Linked DNA regions of Homo sapiens: regions 2, 3, 4, 5, 6 and 7 are each linked to region 1. The links are contacts of gene promoters, found by promoter capture Hi-C in blood cells and fetal thymus (Javierre and others, 2016). All regions are on one chromosome and are shown on one strand. Each heading gives the region's core, a stretch centred on a gene start or on the middle of the fragment in contact. The rest is flanking DNA. Distances are from core to core; before and after follow the strand shown. Region 1 holds the start of LTN1 (listerin E3 ubiquitin protein ligase 1). Region 2 overlaps LOC107985486 (a long non-coding RNA gene). Region 3 overlaps LOC107985486 (a long non-coding RNA gene). Region 4 has its middle 39 kb from the start of BACH1-IT2. Region 5 has its middle 11 kb from the start of BACH1-IT2. Region 6 has its middle 8.7 kb from the start of BACH1-IT2. Region 7 overlaps BACH1 (BTB domain and CNC homolog 1).

What was found. The method cuts DNA at HindIII sites, captures the fragments that hold promoters and counts their contacts. A CHiCAGO score of 5 or more calls a contact.
Region 2: a contact is called between a fragment that was not itself captured here and the fragment with the promoter of LTN1 in region 1, in 2 of 17 cell types (naive CD4 T cells and non-activated CD4 T cells). The highest score is 5.3, in naive CD4 T cells.
Region 3: a contact is called between a fragment that was not itself captured here and the fragment with the promoter of LTN1 in region 1, in 3 of 17 cell types (naive CD4 T cells, activated CD4 T cells and total CD8 T cells). The highest score is 5.9, in naive CD4 T cells.
Region 4: a fragment that was not itself captured here is called in contact with the fragment with the promoter of LTN1 in region 1 in 2 of 17 cell types (neutrophils and naive B cells); the score reaches 11.5 in neutrophils.
Region 5: a contact is called between a fragment that was not itself captured here and the fragment with the promoter of LTN1 in region 1, in 4 of 17 cell types (neutrophils, total B cells, monocytes and 1 more). The highest score is 13.1, in neutrophils.
Region 6: a fragment that was not itself captured here is called in contact with the fragment with the promoter of LTN1 in region 1 in 10 of 17 cell types (neutrophils, naive B cells, naive CD8 T cells and 7 more); the score reaches 12.6 in neutrophils.
Region 7: a fragment that was not itself captured here is called in contact with the fragment with the promoter of LTN1 in region 1 in 6 of 17 cell types (neutrophils, total B cells, total CD4 T cells and 3 more); the score reaches 11.1 in neutrophils.

What each region holds. Positions count from the first base shown.
Region 1 is chr21:28,991,570-28,994,279 of GRCh38, forward strand. It overlaps LTN1 (listerin E3 ubiquitin protein ligase 1), which reads right to left and starts at 1,308. Exons shown (of 30, transcript NM_015565.3): 1 at 1,195-1,308. The coding sequence starts at 1,236. It overlaps LOC105372766 (a long non-coding RNA gene), which reads left to right and starts at 1,534. Exons shown (of 3, transcript XR_007067835.1): 1 at 1,534-1,562; 2 at 2,001-2,112; 3 at 2,213-2,612. RefSeq lists enhancers at 1,113-1,222, 1,533-1,592. The HindIII fragment of the contact is 7,723 bases long and covers 1-2,462 here.
Region 2 is chr21:29,453,206-29,455,915 of GRCh38, forward strand. All of the region lies in intron 1 of LOC107985486 (a long non-coding RNA gene), which reads left to right. Among named protein-coding and RNA genes, the nearest start is that of BACH1-IT3, 41 kb to the right of the region's middle. The HindIII fragment of the contact is 2,995 bases long and covers 1-2,710 here.
Region 3 is chr21:29,437,128-29,439,837 of GRCh38, forward strand. All of the region lies in intron 1 of LOC107985486 (a long non-coding RNA gene), which reads left to right. Among named protein-coding and RNA genes, the nearest start is that of BACH1-IT3, 58 kb to the right of the region's middle. The HindIII fragment of the contact is 1,850 bases long and covers 457-2,306 here.
Region 4 is chr21:29,410,065-29,412,774 of GRCh38, forward strand. No RefSeq gene overlaps it. Among named protein-coding and RNA genes, the nearest start is that of BACH1-IT2, 39 kb to the left of the region's middle. The HindIII fragment of the contact is 2,038 bases long and covers 374-2,411 here.
Region 5 is chr21:29,381,933-29,384,642 of GRCh38, forward strand. No RefSeq gene overlaps it. Among named protein-coding and RNA genes, the nearest start is that of BACH1-IT2, 11 kb to the left of the region's middle. The HindIII fragment of the contact is 6,313 bases long and covers 1-2,710 here.
Region 6 is chr21:29,362,428-29,365,137 of GRCh38, forward strand. No RefSeq gene overlaps it. Among named protein-coding and RNA genes, the nearest start is that of BACH1-IT2, 8.7 kb to the right of the region's middle. The HindIII fragment of the contact is 1,422 bases long and covers 650-2,071 here.
Region 7 is chr21:29,342,142-29,344,851 of GRCh38, forward strand. BACH1 (BTB domain and CNC homolog 1) reads left to right here. Exons shown (of 5, transcript NM_001186.4): 5 at 258-2,710. The coding sequence ends at 692. Among named protein-coding and RNA genes, the nearest start is that of BACH1-IT2, 29 kb to the right of the region's middle. RefSeq lists an enhancer at 1-1,178. The HindIII fragment of the contact is 5,760 bases long and covers 1-2,710 here.

The DNA of each region.
Region 1 (2,710 bases), core at 58-2,557:
TGGTAAATGTAGGTAAAGAGTATATGGGATGTCGTTCTAATATTCTTGCAACTTTTCCTCATAAGAACTTTTCAAATATAAAACATTTGAGAAAATCTGTTAAATAAAAAACATTAAAAGATGCAAGTAAAGTGCTTAGCACAGTAACACAACAGGTTGCTATAATTGTTAATACTGTTATTATCTTCCAAAACAGATTAAGTGACAGATCTAAGAAAATGTGACATTGAAATCACTAGAATTAACTACATCAGAAACAGGAAAAAAAAGCATTCTCATAAAATTGGACTGTGCTATAATAAATCTAACACCATAAAAAAATACCATTACAAAACCCCTCATCGTGTAGTTTTACACGAATCCACTTTAAGGTCGTCCTTAAGCAAGTACTTAGTGAGCGTCTATTAGGTGCCAGTCTGTTCTAGGTTCCGAGGATAAAAACATTTGCTTTCAAAATACTTACGTCCTAGTGAACCAAGACAATAAATGTCATAAATACAATGGAGTAAAATAAAGTAGGAAGAACATGGGAGTGGGGAAGGGCTACCAAGAGGGTGATCATGGGAGACCTCACTGAGGTGTCGAGAGCAAAGTTTGGAGCCACCTAACTGAAGAGCGTTGGGAGCCGGCCAGGTAGTCAAGGCACAGTGAAGAGATCAGTGTGGCTGGATGAAGTAAGCCAAGAGGAGGGAGCTGAAGATGGGACTGCAGATGGAAAGGGGTAACAGGCAGTCCAGAAACCAAATATACCATCCTAAGAGCTTTAGCTTAGGAGAAGCCACTGTAGGTAGCAAAGGAGAGGCACAATCTGCGGTAACCTCCACAGTGGATTCACTTTAACATTCTCCCAACTCTCCTTCTTCCCAGCGCCGCCCTCCCCCAACCAACCCGCTACCTCGGCCAGATCACCTTCCAGTGAACCTGACACATTATCATTTCTTCATGAATATTATGGGTGTGTGCTCGGATGAGGACAGCTCTGGCATGGTACATCTTTTCTCTCACGATTCCCCAATCTGCTCAGAGATAACACAAACCGCTCTCAGGGACGCACACACAACAGAGAGGTCACACTCGACAGGGAAACACACGCCTCCCTACAGCCGCGCTCCACACACCCTCCAGCAACGCGCTGGGCGGAGCCAGCCGCCTCGAAGCGAGGCTCCCGGGTCGGCCGAGCCAGCCCCCGCTCACCCTCAGGTTCCCTTTAGTTCGCTGCTTGTTCTTCCCGCCCATGGTCGCGGTTGCAGCTGTACTCTGAGCACTCAGACCCCGGTTGACACGTCCGGGACACAACTTCCGGCTTCTGGCGGCGGAAGAGGACACCCTGTAATAACTTCCCCCGGGCCCTTTTCCGCCACCCACCCTGTCCATTTGCTGCCCCACTTCCGCTCCCGCCTCCCGCTGTGTCCCTGACCATCCGCCACCGGAGACGTCACAGCTAAAGCCACGCCTGTCTGAGTGATGTCATTCCTGGCCAATAGGAAGCCAAGCATTGGACCCGTGGCGCCAAATCCTGTCCTCCCCGCTTTCAGAAGCTAGGTTTGTTCCTTGCTTAGAGGGTAGGAAACTGGCGTGAATCATCAGAGGGGCAGTTTCACATAAGGGTAGCATTAGAATGTTATGGTAGAGGCTGTGGGAAGATGGGAGTGTTTTAGACTTCCAACATGATGCAATCATCAGTATCACCTGGGCGTTTTTTAGAAAAGGCCAACTCGGGCCCCTCAGAACTCCTGAATCAGATCCTGCATTTTGACAGTATTCCCAAGTCTTGTTAAAATTTGATTACTGCTGTAGGCACTATTCTCTCTAAATCTCCCCTCCCCGTCCCCTTTTATTCATATTGAAACTGTTAACGTGCAGTTTAGGAAAGAGGATAATGTGGGAGTCCCTATTAAAATTTGAAATGTACAAATCCTGTAACCCATTGATTGTGCGACTCAGAATCACACCAGAGAAACAAGTAAATGTGTGCTGGTTATTGTTTCTTGTCCACGCAGTCACCCTTTTATACTCAACTCCATGTTACTGGGGGGGCTTCTGCTAGATTCCACCAACAGGACGAACAAGAGGGAAACAAAGGCAAGAGGAAGAAGGGACTTGCTCCATTCTGTAAGCATCATGCCAGCAGCAGCTGCATTTTACCGTGGCAGGAGCAATTGCTTTAGCCAAAAGGTGGTTTTAATCTCTATCCTTTTTCCAACAATCACAGAATCAGCCTTATTGCACCCCTCAGAGATCACAGCAGCAGTCAGTGCTCTCCTCAGAGATCTGAATTCTACTTTCATGCGGCCCCTCCCCTGAGCTCCTGAGATAGCCAATGTTTGAGCCACCTCCTCAGAAGTTTGAGCCTCAACACCGTGGGATCCCTTCTTTGTGCTCCAGAGATCCAGTAACAGCCAGCCATCACCCTCTCTTCATTCTTCATAGGCCTGAACTAAGGTGTTCAGGGCCCTCCTTCAAGCTTTTAGGTTCTGATGACTCCAACCACTTCTTTTGTTCCATCCTTTCCTAGCTCTAGGAATGGTAGCTGCTACCTGCAGTGATTACCTGTTACCTTTTATAATTCCTTTTGACCAATTTCCCATATTAAAATATTTCTCAATAACTAATGTGATTTCTGTTTTCCTGACTGGACCCTGATTTTAAAATGCACACAAAAGCCAGGTGCAGTGGCTTATGCCTGTAATCCCACCACTGTGGGAGGCCG
Region 2 (2,710 bases), core at 61-2,560, 460 kb after region 1:
CTTCCTTCTCTTACATTCAGTAAATCTAAGGCTTCTTTGAGTTTCTGTGCCCTCTCTTACCTATTGGCAATGTCTGTAAAGACACAGCTCACCTCTTTCTTCTCTTCTGGGAAATATTATTAGCCATTATGCTTTCAGCCCACATTTGTTCACTTATTATTTCCCTGTGTAGACCCTACAAAATGGGAACCAGATCTTTTTCTATAGTTTTAGATAAAGGTAGTCTGGCAGTTTTCTAGAGAAATTCATTATTAGAAATTTATTCTAATGGGAACCCATTTTTGGCTTACTCTGTTGGTTGCTTTGACCTCTGTTTTTCCTTGCAGAGCTCGACTTATTAATATCATTTAGGAGCACTGGGAAACATCATTCTGCATATTTATCAGGCAATTCATACACACATCCCTACAGTTCAGTGTATAGAGCTTCTCTGTTTTGGACTTAAACTGAAAGATTTTAATGACTGGTCGTATTGGCCCAGCTCCTAATATGCAGATGAATCATTGTGTCTGCACTGCGGAGTGTTGGCCATCTTTTTACTTCTGCTTTTCTTAAGTAGATGCAAATATTGAGGGGATCCTAAAGAAGGACAGGAAGAGTACCAGCATTTTTTTTTTTCTAAATCTGCCACTAAAGTCCCTTTGGATTGGATTTTAGATAGTCATGGCATTTGAATAACCTGCATTTATTAATCTCTGGAAATAAGTGAAAAACTAGAAAAGGCTGAACGTACAATCAATATAATGCAATACTGGGGCCTAACAAAGTGGATAAATGATATTTATCAGCAGGCGACTGCTGTTTAATTCACAGGCACAAATGCCCACATTCATCTGTGACACTGAATCAGTTTTCTTGTGAGTGTTGTCTTCCCTGAGGTTTCTTTCTCTTACTCTTCTCTCCTTGCTCAAATTTCAGAGTTGTCATCCACAATTCTGGGAAAGGTGATGTTTCACTTGCTTCATTCAATAAAGATGGGGTTTAGGGGGGTGACACAAGGTATGGCTACCAATGTCTAATGCTGGTATTATATCCTTTATCCAGTATGCTGGGGAGAAAGTACAATCATTTTGCTTTACTTCATAGCTATCTGGTTCATTAAATCCCATGAGTCTTGGTAAATTATGAAGCAATTATTGATTTTGTTGTGGTCAACATCAAGATATATATTGATTTTCCCACCAGTCAATAGTTTCCAGAGGCATAATCAATATTGATGTTTGCTGAACATGTGTGTTAATGTCAGTGTGGGTATATGTACTTAGATCTCTACACTCAGATATTTATTTTATACTCTTTCTGAACGTTTTTGTAAAAAACTATTTTCTCCCAAAGATCCTATTATTTTTTGGCTGATTTATTCAGTTCTTCCTTTTTGCTTTACATTTTTAATCTCATTTATTCTTCCCCGGATTGATAATGGAAAGGAAAACTAAGGCTTTGGAAGAAGTCTATTTGCCTTTAATGAACCGGTTGGGGGTGAGTCTTCCTGATGAGATTGTGATTAATTGCAAAGTGAGTATTACTTCTTGTCTCCATCCTGTCGGTTCGATAGAATGACAAAAAAAGTTGAAGACTTTCACTCTCCATTCCAGCATCTACCAGACCAACATAACTCAGTAAGCACATCTGAGAATCCCCCTCATTTACTCCCAGTACTTTTTTCAATTATGTGGAACATAGACGAACAGGTCAAACTTGGATTTAGACAAAGTTAAATGATCAACTACATGATGCAATTTAATGGGCACAAAAATAAAAAAAAAAAAAACCTCTTACTGTCTTACATAATAGCCTAAAGTCTACCAGTAGGAATTTATTATAAATATCCTCTTAGAAAATTCAGATTGCTCCTGAGTAAATTAGAATATCAGGAAACTCACCCTTAGCCATCTATTGAACACATACTAGATATCTAGTTCTTTGCTATCATTTTGAGTTGGCACTTTACTTGGTTGACTCCGTGGTTCTTTAGTCTTTATCTGCACTCCACGTTTCTTTAAGCTAGCTGATGTTTCTCATATATTAATTGGCTTCTTCGACCAGTGAGGCAAATGAATTAGTACTCATTTCATCAGTGAGTTTTTTCTTTTCATCTAGAAAGATGCATTCCATCTAGGAAATGGGGGATTTGATGGCATGTGAGAAAGGTGAGAAGAAAGGAATAAATTTAAAGTACAGCAAATTGCCATCCTATACATGCATGTGTGCATGCCCTCTGGTATATATGTATCAGATGCTAGGTGGTAAGCAATAATTTGCCATGAAGCAGTTTGGTAGGGGTGAACTTCTCAGAGTAATTTCAAGCCAGTTATTGACTCCCAATAACAACTTAGCATTCTGATTCCCAGAGGATAATGTGGTCAAGAAAAGAGAAAGATAACGCATACATGACAAAATCAACCTCCCTCATTAAAACAATTTCCCTAATTGATCAGTGCTTCAGAGCATTCCATGTAGTGGCCGGGGAAAAAGTGCAGTACAGAAAAAAACTGGTTCTTGCAAAAGAGAGATAGCTTTGATGTGACAGAGACAGTGTGACAATAACCAAGTCCACTTTTCTGTAATACTGATCTGCCAATGCTTTGTATAGTGCTTAAGACCCATGTGGAGAAAATAGCAGTTCACATTCTGTTGATGCATATTTAAAGCTAAGAACTTAAAAATGAGATTTTATGTTTGAATTGTTTTTGTTGCTATACTTTTGAGC
Region 3 (2,710 bases), core at 132-2,631, 450 kb after region 1:
GACATCAATCAATATGTGTAAGATGTACATTGGTTTGGTTTGGAAAGGCAGGACAATGCTAAGTGGGGAGGGGGCTTCCAGGTTGTAAGTATATAAGTGACAAGTGTTTGCAGTCTTTTGAGTTTCTGATTAGTTTTTCCTAAGGAGGCAATCAGATATGCATTTATCTCAGTGAGTGGAGGGATGACTTTGAGTTTATCTTAGTAGCTATCTTTCTTAGGAATAGAATGGGAAAAAAGTTTCCCTAAGCAGTTCCCAGCTTGGCTTTTCCCTTTGGCTTAGTGATTTTGGGGTCCCGAGATTTATTTTCCTTTCACATTCCTCATGAGGATTTCCTTTCAAATAGTTCTTCCCTTTGAACAAATAATTTCATTCCTGGGGATCAGTCCTAAGGAACTAAGCCCAAATAATAAAAAAGCTTTCTGCTCAAAGATATTCTTTTCATCTTTTTTAAAAAGCTTTTCCTAACATGTTCTGATGGGGGCAGGTGACTGGCAAAGGCTGTTAGAACTGGTTTTAGCCACACGAAGGATCCTTGGGAGGTAATTTAGGGTCTCAGGTGAAAATATGAGGCAGGAAGGGTCACATTTTAACATCCTGCTACAAATGATTTCTTGGATCCCACCAAAGACCGTTTATTAAGTCTGTATTCCCCACATTCTTCTCTCTGGCTAGATAATTCCCTACTGTGACTTTTTGTATCTTTACAATTATTTTCTAGTGGCAGACTTCGGCAGCAATGCAAGTTTACCACATATACTGGCTTTCTGGTCTATCTCAACATGTCTTCCCACCACTCACTTTTTTTTTTTCTTCATTTTTGGCCCATACTGAGGGGTTGCCAGAATATTTTCTCTTATTTTTTTAAACAAATTCGGTTTTATGTCAAGATTACTAAAATTAATTTTGACATGGTATTGCCCATGGTAATTTTGTGTATGTTACAATTCATAATAAATTAACCAGAGTATTTTTTCACAGGCTCCTACCCACTGCATATTTTTATCATCTAACACATAGAAAATGTGTCAGTCTGTTAGATTCAATGCAAGTGCTCAGAGAAGTCTTTGTAACTGTACTTTAGATTTTGAGAATTCATTCATGGTTCCAATACATGGCATTTTACATGTAACATCGCAAATGGGTTTCATTTTAAGCATTCTTTAAATATGGAGCTTGTGAATTACAAAAGAATCTTTTATTTTACACCAGAATACTTCACATCTTATGGAAACTCATCATTGATTTTATTTAAAAGAACTAGTTTTTCAAGAACACCTAAACATTTAATTATCATTAAATCAATTAACTTGTAACCTCAGGATTATCTAACTATCAATCTGGAATGTCCAGTCAAGACAATGAAATATTAAACATATTTAAGGGGTTATAAATATGTGGAGGGAGGAACTAAGTGACAGTATTGAAAACTTTAAATATATGGGGATTACATTATATTAATGTATTTAATTGGTATGTTTATTATATATGGATTATGATATATTATTAGAAGTTTAAATAAACACAAAAAATATTAAATTTTATAAAAGGGTAAATAATGAGGCTAAATATAAGTTAAACATAAAATATTTGATTAGCTTTTCTTCATAACCCTATAAGTACTTAGGTTACATAGTATAATAAAATAGAATGTCCATGTGCATAAATAGCACAAATCTGCAATTAGTAGAAATGACCTGAATAGGCCAGGCCCAGTGGCTCATGCCTGTAACCCCAGCACTCTGGGAGGCTGAGGTGGACAGATCACTTGGGGCCAAGAGTTTGAGACCAGCCTGGCCAACATAACGAAACCCCATTTCTACTAAAAATACAAAAATTAGCCGGACATGGAGGCACATGCCTATAATCCCAGTGACTCGGGAGGTTGAAGCACGAAAATCACGTGAGTCTGGGAGGCAGAGGTCACAATGAGGTGACAGCGCACCATTGCATTCCAGCCTGGGTGACAGAAGGAAACTGTCTCAAAATAAATAAATAAATAAAATAAGATAACCTGAATAAAAATTATTTAAAAAATTTTTAAAAACTGTAAGAGATTACCTAATGCCCTAAAGTAAAACTGTAGCAAATGAAAGATGTACATTTTATCAGGAGGTAGGGTTAAATAGTAAAAAATTATCTTTTTTCAAATTAATTTATCATTTTAATATTATAATTCAAAGTCCAGATGGGATTCTTTTGAGAGAAACTTTGTAAAAAAAAAAATTAAGAAAAATATTTTTTTTCTTAAAATAGAATATTAATAAGTGGTGGAGAATTGTACCATATATTAAGAAGTATTATGAAGCTTGGATTCCTTAAGCAGTGTGGGCTTGATATAGGCTAATCACTAGAACCAGGTAGCTCAGATGAACTCTATGATAGGTAAGCTGCAATATATGGTAAAGGAGGCACCACAAACTAATGGTTAAAAAAGTAGTATTTAATAAGTAGTGTTGGGACAACTGGTTATCTGTTTACAAAAAAAGATATCTTTGGATTCTTACCTCTTACCATACACCCCCCAAAAATCTACAAGAATAAAAGAGACTTGAAAAAATCATATAAATTTAAAAGTTTAGAAGAAAACTATCAAATCTCTGTTTGGGGGAAGGTTTACCAACTTAAAAATAATGGAAAAACTGTAAGGACAGAGATAGATGTTAATGCCATAAAAATAATAACTTATGCCTATAAAAAAATCAAAGGG
Region 4 (2,710 bases), core at 143-2,642, 420 kb after region 1:
CCATGACTGAATTCATTCCAGCACCTCTACACGTATTTATTTATTTTGGCGACCTGCAGGGTCCTATATCAGGTACAACATGCACTCTTGTCTTATGCATTGTCATGAAACATATTAAAACTTAGTATGCTTGTCTGTTTTAGAAAAGACCTCTTTAATCATTCCAGTAATTATGCAAACACTCCCACAGGGCCAACAATAAACATGTCCTTCCCTTCCTGAGAAGCCTTCTGACTGTCTCCTTGGAAGCCACACCAAAGGGATTGGACAGAACGTGCAATTAATAACTCAAATGAGGAGAGGTTAATATGGTCATCAGGCATCTGAGAAATAAAAGTGTCATTGCTTTATTAAAAGCTGTAATTCAGGTACAAGCTTACATAGTAATGATAAGACAATTTTAAAGAAATAAATGAAAGGACCAGAAGAAAAAAAAATGTTGATCTTAACTCTAGATGAGATTTTAGATTCTGCAAACATATTTTCTTGGTTGATAAAGAATGAGATCCATTGACCTTTAAATGTATTATTTGTTGCAAGAAAATGTAGAAGTCCAAGGAAACTCTACAGGGACTTTGCTACTTGAGGTTTGATAACCTGTCCATGAGTTTCCTAAGTACAGTGAATTTTCGAGGGTCCGTTTTCATGTGGCCTCAGGAGATCAAATTTAATCATTTAGGTTTTCCTTTCTCCTACTTGGGAGGGGTGTAGGGGCTTGAGAAGCTCAGGGCTATTTAAAAAGACCTACATGGGCCAGACGTGGTGGCTCATGCCTGTAGTCTCAGCACTTTGGGAGGATGAGTGGGGAGAATCACTTGAGCCCAGGAGTTTGAGACCAATCTAGGCAATATAGGGAGACCACTGTCTGTATGTGTGTATATATATATATATATATATATATATATATATATATATATATATATAAATTAGTCATATGTGGTGTCACACACCTGTCATCCAAGCTACTCAGGAGGCTGAGGCTGGAGGATCTCTTGAGCCCAGGAATTTGAGGCTTCATTGAACCTTGATCAAGCCACTGCCCCAGCCTGGGCAACAGAACAAGACCCTGTCTCAATAAAGTAAAATAAAATGGCCTATACTATCTTTTTGTTGTTGTTGTTGCCTCACTTAGTATCAAAGAAGATTAAGAGAAATGTAAAGAGCTAGACTTTGAGCTCCTATGTAATAAGGTCCAGGTATATGAAAGAGAATAATGATGAGGCCCTGATGTACATCCCATAACGTGAGAAATGACAGTTAGAAGAACAGGGGGACTCTGTTTAGTGGTAACATGAACTCTTTAAGGAACTCTTTAAGGAAGCTGGGACAAGGGAGAGCCTTCAATTTCTCATACACAGAAGCCAATATGGGCTGTTTATGGTTGAATGAGGAGGAGGATGGTTTGGGTTCCTTGACCTATGTCACTGAGGTACAATCTTTATTTCAAACCCTCCCAGGCCACGATGAAAAGACTCCTGGAAAACCATGAGGTGGCCCTCCCAAACCCTAAGATTGGAATGTGGTTTTCCTAGGGAAAGAAGACTCATGAGCTGTCTGGAGGTGAGCATTGGTGGGGAAGGTCTTTTGGAGCAAGAAGAAAACCGTGGGCTTTATCCTTTAGGCTACGGAGTCATTGGAGAATTTTGGACAGAGGAATAATGAGATAGAAGTAATGTCTAGAGAATATTAATTTGATAACAGGGTACAAAATAATTTAGGAGATTTCTGGGAAGGGGGCCAGTTCAGAATCTTCTTCCCCCCATAATCTGTACGTGAGAACATGAAGTGCTGTTGGTTTATTGAGTGAGCTAAACTGAGCGGGGGTAGAACTAGGGAACGATTTAATTTTTCATCGTCTATTGCATTTAAATGTGGTCTGTTTGATCCCTTTTCCTTATCCCTGAATGAGATCTGAGGAAAATCACATAGCTTTCTTGTCCTTTTGACTTGTTAGACAAGTCCTATTTTGTTAAGAGTCACTGTGTCTGGTATTAAACAGCCCAGTCTAAATAAAAACTTCAGGCTCAGATCCAATTCTGAGCTTCTCACCTTCCCTCAACTCAGGTCTGATCTAGGCTAGGAAAGAGGTGTGGTCTTTTCTTATGCAATTCCTTTCTCCTTTGCTTCTCTTCCCAACTCCTGCTGCTGGCTCCTCCAGAACTGGGAAGCAGGGGTTAGCATGAAAGGGGGAAAGGCATTTTTACTCCGTTCATGATATTTATGGGTTTCTCTTGGCTGGTGATAATATGTGTGCTGGGCCTCCAAACGCTGGCTCATTTGTGGGGTGCAGATGGTCTGTGTGTGCTCCACGTGGGCTCTGCACAGGGTGTCAAGAGATGCAATACCCAGTTGGCCTTTTCCAAGCCTCCGGTGGTACCGTCTAGTGTGCTGCATCCCATCGAGATGGCTCAAGCTTGGCTCCCTTCCGGAGTTCACCGAACCCACCGGAAATGCATGGTTCGTTGCCGTTCCAAATGTGGGCTGCTTCCGGTGCTCCTTTCCTTCCTCCTGCCAGCCTCTCACTGTCTACATTCTCTGGCGGGAGGCAGGCACCAGCCTCTATGTTCATATAAACCCCTAAATTCTAGCTTATCCATGTCATGCTCTCCAGAGAGCAATTCCACCGTATCCTTCTTTAGGGACTTAAGAATTGCTGCAACTGCTTAGCAAGCCCCCAGCTGAGCGTGAGATACTGTTATGGGTTGAACTG
Region 5 (2,710 bases), core at 157-2,656, 390 kb after region 1:
CCCAGGTCCCAAAGGCATAAGGATGAAGGGAAGAGAGAAAGAAAAACCGACATGTTCCTGACAGCTGGATGCTTCTCCCATTTAGATTTCTCTGAACTGAAATTCTAGATGGTTTAATTACTCCATAAGGTTTGCTAAATTGCCACGTCTCAGCCTCACATACAATGCTGGTATCTACATTCTATGCTCTCAGACTATGTATTAAAACTGTGCACTGGTGGAGTAAGCTAGTTAAATATTTGTACATTTGACTGCACACAGCTACTGCTTATGTTTTCTTGTTCTTCTGCTCTATCTTAAGGAATCTGTATGAGTCAGCCAGTTAAAATGCTGGCTGGGAGGTAATTAGCTGGGAATTTTAACCCCATCATAGTCATTCACCTGCTTGAAGAATGAAGTGGATGGGTACTTTAGTGAGTCTAGCAACTGTTTCTTTCTCTGCCAAATGCAAGAAGTTCTTCGTGAGTTGCTGGATGGCTCAAATTATATTCTGGAGCTTATCCTGGAAACAGGCAAATGTCAGTCCAATGGAACATCAGCGCACATTGATATATAAAATTGCAGGTGATGAAAGGCTCTGAAAGAACTCTATGAGTCTCTGGTCTTAACGCTCTCTTAGATTTTGATGGTACATTGTCTTTTTCATTTCAACTCTGTTTTAAATTTTTTATTATGTAAATTTTTAGACATACCCAGAATTAGAGAGAATAGCATAATAAAACTTGATGGTACCATTAATTCAGTCTCAATAATTGTCAATATTTTGTCAATTGTGTTTTAGTCAGTCCCCACTCTTGGTTTCCTTGTGGCCTGATCTCTATCTGGCAGCTATTAACTCCAATTTGTTTCTTACCACCATTTCTCAGCTCGTCTCCACGTATGTAGACCTTCATCCAAGTGGAATTGTGTGAAGCCTCCCCTGGCTGTGGGAACTACATTTCCATAGAAGTAGCCTCCCTATTCTGGATCTGAATTATACCAAGAGTTCAGTGGCACATTAAATGATAATTGATTTGGAAATGAGAGGCACATATACAAAGACAATAACCAGAGCATATATAAAAATAGAACAGCTTACACCTGCCCGCCCAGAAAACCAACCCCTTGTTTCCAACAAACAGCCCAGGAAACCAGCCTGCTTTAAGTCAGAGTTGGAGGGGGTCACATGCTATCACTGGCAACAGTCTAGGAAGTTAACAGTCACTTCTGGAACAATTGGTCTAAAATGACCAGGACTTCACTAATTTTATTGGTAAATACTTTAATATGAATCTCTAGCAGATAAGGGCTTTAAGACAATATAACCACAATAGTATCACCATACTTAACAAAATTATTATTTTAAATATCATCAGTCCATGTTCAAATTGCCTTGTCTCAATTTTTTTTTTTTTTTTTTTTTTTTTTTTTTTTTTTTTGAGATGGAGTCTCGCTCTGTTGCCCGGGCTGGAGTGCAGTGGCGCAATCTCGGCTCACTGCAAGCTCCGCCTCCTGGGTTCATGCCATTCTCCTGCCTCAGCCTCCCAAGTAGCTGGGACTACAGGCGCCCACCACCACACCTGGCTAATTTTTTTGTATTTTTAGTAGAGATGGGGTTTCACCGTGTTAGCCAGGATGGTCTCGATCTCCTGACCTCGTGATCCACTCGCCTTGGCCTCCCGAAGAGCTGGGATTACAGGCGTGAGCCACCGTGCCCGGCCTCAAAAAAATTTTGAATAGTACATTTGTTCATATCAGGAGCTGTATGAGTTCCTTTGTTGATTTTGGTTGATATATCTCTTAATCCTCTATTATTATTTAACACTTTCTCTTCCCCCTTTTTTTCAAGCCATTTATTTGTTGAAAATATGTCATTTTTCCAGTTGAATTTCCCACATCCTGGTCTTATGTGATTGTATCCTGTGGTATTGTTTATATACCCCATATTTCTTGTTAACTGGCAGTTAAGTCAAGAAACACAATTAAATTTAGGTTTATTTTTTTCAGGGGGCAAAAATATTTTATGGGCAGTGTTTAAATCAACAGGCACCCAATGTCTACTTGTCCCACTTTTCATGATGCTGAAGTTGATGGGTTTAGATGTCATCATTCACCCATTATCAATTTTCCCATCAACTACCATTTATGATTCTTGCCAAAATCCATTGTCTCGGCAGGGGTTGCAAAATGACATTTTTCGAATTATTTTTCTAATAATCATTCTTTTTTAATTAGAATTCTTCTGTGGAGAAGAACTTTCCCTCACATCTATTTGGTTAACCTGAAGCACAGTTCATAAATGAGAGGCAAGGTAAATGCTGTATTCTGTACCTTTATTTATCCAATTTCAGAGCAATGAGTCCAGCAACAGCCAAAAATGATTAGTGTGGTTTTCATTTTTCAAAATATCATTATGAACTTACACATTTAATATATATATTTCTGTTATATATTAATATACTAAAAGATTTGATACGTTGTATATATCTAAAATATTTAACATATTTGAATCAATGAGTTTCAGTTGACAATCCATTGTAATGAATGCTAAATTTGTCTCCCCGTTGTTTAATAGGATTGCTCTTAAACTCAGTGTAAAACTGCTTGCCTACTATCCTGTTTATTTTTGAAATACAACTGTACTTAGTATTAAAATATTCCTATTATAGAAAATTTAGAGAATAAAGCCCCACATAAAGAGGAAAATGAAAATTACCTGTATTCTTCCCAC
Region 6 (2,710 bases), core at 111-2,610, 370 kb after region 1:
AAATTATTGCAATATTGCACATTCATTTTTTTTAATCTGGTGTGTATTTTACACTCACAGCTCATTTCGATTTAGATTAGCCAGATTTTAAGTGCTCAGTAGCCACATGTGGCTAGTTGGCCACATCATGTTCCGCTCGGCTCTAAAGACTTAGTGCCTGTTATGAGGGGAATTGTGTGCCCCCCAAATTCATGTGTTAGAATCCTAACCCCCACTACTTCAGAATGTGACCTTATTTGGAGATAGGGTTGTTACCAAGTAAAAACGAGGTCATTTTAGGGTGGACCTTTAGAGTGGATCCTAATCCAGTATGACTGATGTCCTTCTAAAATGCGGAGACTGGAGACAGGCTCACACACAGGGAGAACTCCATGTGGAGAGGAAGGCAGAGACTGGGTGATGCATCTCCAAGCCAAGGACCATCAAAGATCACCTTCATCCCCAGAAGCTAGGAGGGAGCCATGGAACAGTCTCCCTCACAGCCTCAGAAGGAACCAACCCTGCTGATGTCTTGATTTTGGACATCCAGCCTCCAGAACTGTGAGAGAATACATTTCTGTCGTTTAAGGCACACGGCCTGTGGTGCATTGTTATGGCAGCCCTAGTCAACCACTACAGAACCTTTGGTTGGTGGCTGCCATTGTTCCAAAGCTTTCCTCTCCTTGCCTTGAATCTCCTCTTCTCTTCCTTCTGTGCTTTCTCTTCTGGCCTCTCTGTCACTCAACTTTCCTGCCCTCTCTCATCGTTTTCCATAGGATCTCCCTCTCATAGCACAGAAGTAAGCAGGGAGTTTCTGTTGTAGTAAGCGGGAGATGGGTTCCACCTGAGCAGGGAGATGCCTGACTTGCTTCACGTCTCCAATGGGGATAATATTATCTGCCAGCTGTCCCCTGGAGCTACTGTTGTGTAGGTGAAGGGCCGACTCAGAAAATGCTTTGAAACCCATAAATAATGACATGGATGAGAATGAGTATTTTGTGTGTTTTACTTTCACATGTTAGGACTCAAAGGTGGAATGAAGTGTTTTCTAAGTTACTTTGGTTTCTTCTCTCTGTAATTATCTAGGGTTCCTACTTCATGGTAGGGAATGTGTGAAAGGGCATAGGCCCTGCCACTTTCTTGCCATCTGTCAGTAGTGGGCTTCTACGGGCTGCCTCCCAAGCATGTTTTATATCCTCTCTACCCAGCGCAGAACGGCCTCCCTAACTCAAAAACCACGTGTTAAGGTGATATGGATCCCACTCCCATCTCTAGAAGTGGGTCCCAAATAGGGTCACTGCATCAGATAATTCCAAGGGGTATCATCTTGATATTGTTTGGCTTTGTGTCCCCACCCAAATCTCATCTTGAATTGTAATCCCATAATCCCCACGTGTCATGGGAGGGAGCCGGTGGGAGATAATTGAATCAGGCTGGCTGTTTCCCTCACACTGTTCTCGTGATAGTGAGTGAGTTCTCAGGAGATCTGATTGTTTTATAAGCGTCTGGCATTTCCCCTGCTGCACTCATTCTCTCTCCTGCTGCCCTGAGAAGAGGTGCCTTCCACCATGATTGTAAGTTTCCCGAGGCCTCCCTAGCCATGCAGAACTGTAAGTCAATTAAATCTCTTTGCTTTATAAATTACCCAATCTCGAGTATTTCTTCATAGCAGCATGAGAACGGACCACTACACATCTGCATTGTCATAAATGTGTATAGTGAACTTGAAGTTGTGCAGTGCACAACCTGCACAGTCATATCTGATAGCCCCAGTCCTGTACAATTAAATCATTCAGGCAATCCCGTCTCTCTGACCGTAGTCATAGGTACAGAATGGGTACTAAAATCCCGTAAAGCTGTGAGGAGAGATTGTCCGGGGTTACTGAGAAAAAAACCAAAAAACAAAAAACTCTTGCCTTCTCCAGGGACCTACTGATAGACGGCATTCTGAGTGTGATATAAACATATAAGGCTGGCAGCTGTGCTCATGAGAGAAGGGCCAGTACCTTTTGCGAAGTCACTAGGTGGACCTTGAGGAATAAGAGAGCAGAGATCTGAGAGAGCCAGGGCTTGTGCTTATGCCTCTGGATCAAGCTTTGCCTGAAGCACCTGTGCAGTTTGTTACATGAGCCCATGTATTTGCTTTATAGAATTGGTTTGGGTTGGATTTTCTTTCCCTTGCTACCCAAAGAATTCTAAATGCTACACTGGAGATGGAAGTAAAGAAAGGGGGAGATAGAGATATGTTTCTGGTTGACAGTGCAACAACTATCAAAAACAAAAACAAAGCTTCTTCAAGCATCCACAACCATTGCCACAGCAATTTGAATTACATTTTCTAATGAAAACCAGGCCAAATGATCGTTAACATTCTCAGCTAACTCACAGCAATGTTCTTAAGTCCATTTGTGATTGTCCAATGCTAAAAATGTATACCAGTTGGCATTAAAAACCTAAACTATTTCTACCACTGTATGGCTTTTAACTAGAGGTTTGTGGTCTACCCTGAAAACTTAATCTACTATGCATATCTTTATTTCTAAACTAATACGTTCTTTTGAGTTCAGCCTACCTAAAAGCATACTTCTGGTGTACTGCCTATTTGTAAATTGAAACTTGTCATAAGTATAATAACATTGCCCCCATTGTTCGTATTAATTCATAGCAAGGGGGAACACTACTGTATAGATGTTATAAATGCTTAGGCAAGGGAGACCATTCAGCTCTTAAC
Region 7 (2,710 bases), core at 211-2,710, 350 kb after region 1:
CTAGAGAAATTATGTGTGCACCCATACTGTCTTTCCAAAACCTGAAAAATGCTTTGTGCCAAAATACATCTGCCCCAAGAGTTTTGGGTGGGAGATTCTGGGCCTTTAGTATTTAATGTATAATTGAATGGAATTGAAAGGATAAACTCCATGTGATCTTACTTGATGAGAAGCCCCTGTATATTATTTGATCGCCTTGGAAATGTTGATTGAGCTAATAAACACAAGCCATTGTGTTCTCTTTCCCCACTTCACAGCAAAGTGAAAAGGAGAGCTTGTTGAAGGAAAGAGATCACATTTTGTCAACTCTGGGTGAGACAAAGCAGAACCTAACTGGACTTTGCCAGAAAGTTTGTAAAGAAGCAGCTCTGAGTCAAGAACAAATACAGATACTCGCCAAGTACTCAGCTGCAGATTGCCCACTTTCATTTTTAATTTCTGAAAAAGATAAAAGTACTCCTGATGGTGAACTGGCGTTACCATCAATTTTCAGTTTATCTGACCGGCCTCCAGCAGTGCTGCCTCCCTGTGCCAGAGGAAACAGTGAGCCTGGCTACGCGCGAGGGCAGGAGTCCCAGCAGATGTCCACAGCCACCTCTGAGCAAGCTGGGCCTGCGGAACAGTGTCGTCAGAGTGGTGGGATCTCAGATTTCTGTCAGCAGATGACTGATAAATGTACTACTGATGAGTAAACTTGCATTCACTTCCTTCAAACCATCTAATTTTCTCCTGAAGTTTTGGCAGCGTCTTGAAAGCCTAATATGACCATCTGTTGCTCAACAATACTGTTTTTTTCCTTTAGTAGTTTACCATAAGGGAATTTCCTTTAAGTCAACCATGATTTCTCCTTGATTTCTACAAGAGACAAAGAAATGATTTTGCCTCCTGGATATCAGAAAAATCCATGTGAAAATGTAGTAAACCTTTAAAACTCATGTTTTAAAGAATAATAACTCTAGTAATAACTCTTCCTGCTATTCAGAATAAGTAGGAGAATGAAAACTGCAGCATATCAGACAGCAATTTAACAGCTTGAAACATCTACAGATAGTTCCTACTAAAAGAAGTGGCCTGCAGAAGTTTAATAATTTGACTTTTTTCTAATATTTTAGTTTGAAAGAAAATTTCTTCCCAAGCAATGCTAATAGAGTTCTATTCTTAGAAGCAGGGTGTCAGCTACTGGGAATATTTTTGTAGAGCTGCATTGTGAAAAAAAGATGGTCTTACCTGAATCTTAGGGCTTTGTTCTTCGGCTCCTAAAATCAGGCTTTAAGCTACATTGGGAAGATTTAGTAAATAGGCAAGTGGTTGGCCTAAGACGGGGGCTGCTTCTCCTCTTCAGTATGGACTCTAGAAAGTCTGGCTACATGAATAGATTTAAGTGTCACTTTCCCTCCCTGCCCCCCGCTTCAGTCTCTACCATATCTGGTCCCATCATGGACTTCCTATTTCCTGGCATTTTTGTCCCTTTGGAAGAAGAAATAGGACTCAGAATACAGTGGCATGAGTGATTACACTGGCAGCATTATCTCAGGCTCCCTAGAATCTGGAGAGCTTACCAACATGTAAAGCTGTTCATTTTTCCACCGTGGGTCACCAATGCCAGAAAACCAGACATCACGGGGAAAGAATGTTGCTTACTTTTTACCAGGAGTGCAGTTCATTTTTTTCACCCTGTTTTTGAAGTCGTATTATTCACTTGTAAAAATGATTGTAACAGATAAAAAATGTATCTGCAGCAACTCTGCAGGTTTGTGAAATAGGATGAAACTCAATCTTTTTCTATTGTGGGTTTGCATTTGAAAAGCAGGTTGAATCCTTGCTCTCTTCTCCAAATTTGGTGTGGTATAAAGACACACAAATCATTTTAACTTGGACATTTAAAGATCAGTCTTAGTGTTTGTTCAGTCCTGTTACAAAATAGATAACTGAGCACCTATCGCATAACATTTTGCGGTGGCTTTTAGCCATGCTGGGGTTAGATGTGTTTGAGAGTCAAATGAAAGCTATGGATCTTCTCAGCAATTAAAAAAAATGCATATATTCACATTCACAGAAACATTGGCAGAACCCAGTTTTAATGGTACAGAGGAGTAGTTTATAGTGTTGATTTCACCAAAATCAGAGGGCTGAAAGAGACACTTCTATAGACTGCATCCTGAGCCTAGTGCAGGGCTTGTCTAGCTAATGTGGGCAGCCACCACCCACTGTGTATGAACAAGTCTGAAGCAAGTTGGCCTTGCCCTTGAGAGTATATGGGGACCAGTCTTCATGTCTTGGAGTAATTTGTCAAATGTTACCCTTTTTGATCAGGGTGTAGGGGGAGGATATTGCTAGTATATTTTCAGTGGTTTGTATGTTCTCTCTGTCACTGACTTATTTGTAAGAGAAAATTAGTTGGACTTGTTTATTTTCTAGTAGCTTTTATAAGTACACTCAAGAATTTGTCAGGGAGAATAATTCTGATAGTGCATCCCATACTGCAAAAGAATTTGTGTGTGTGTGTGTGTGTGTGTGTGTGTGTGTGTATGTGTATGTATACATATATATCTCTCCATATAGGTATTTCTTTGATACTTGTAATTTTAAATTTCAGCTTCACGATATAAAATAATATAAGAACTTCTGGTTTACAAAATGTAAAATCTTAAGCCAATGGAACCCTTGATTTCCTACCTCAGTGTACACCCAACTATTGGTTGTATCAGTT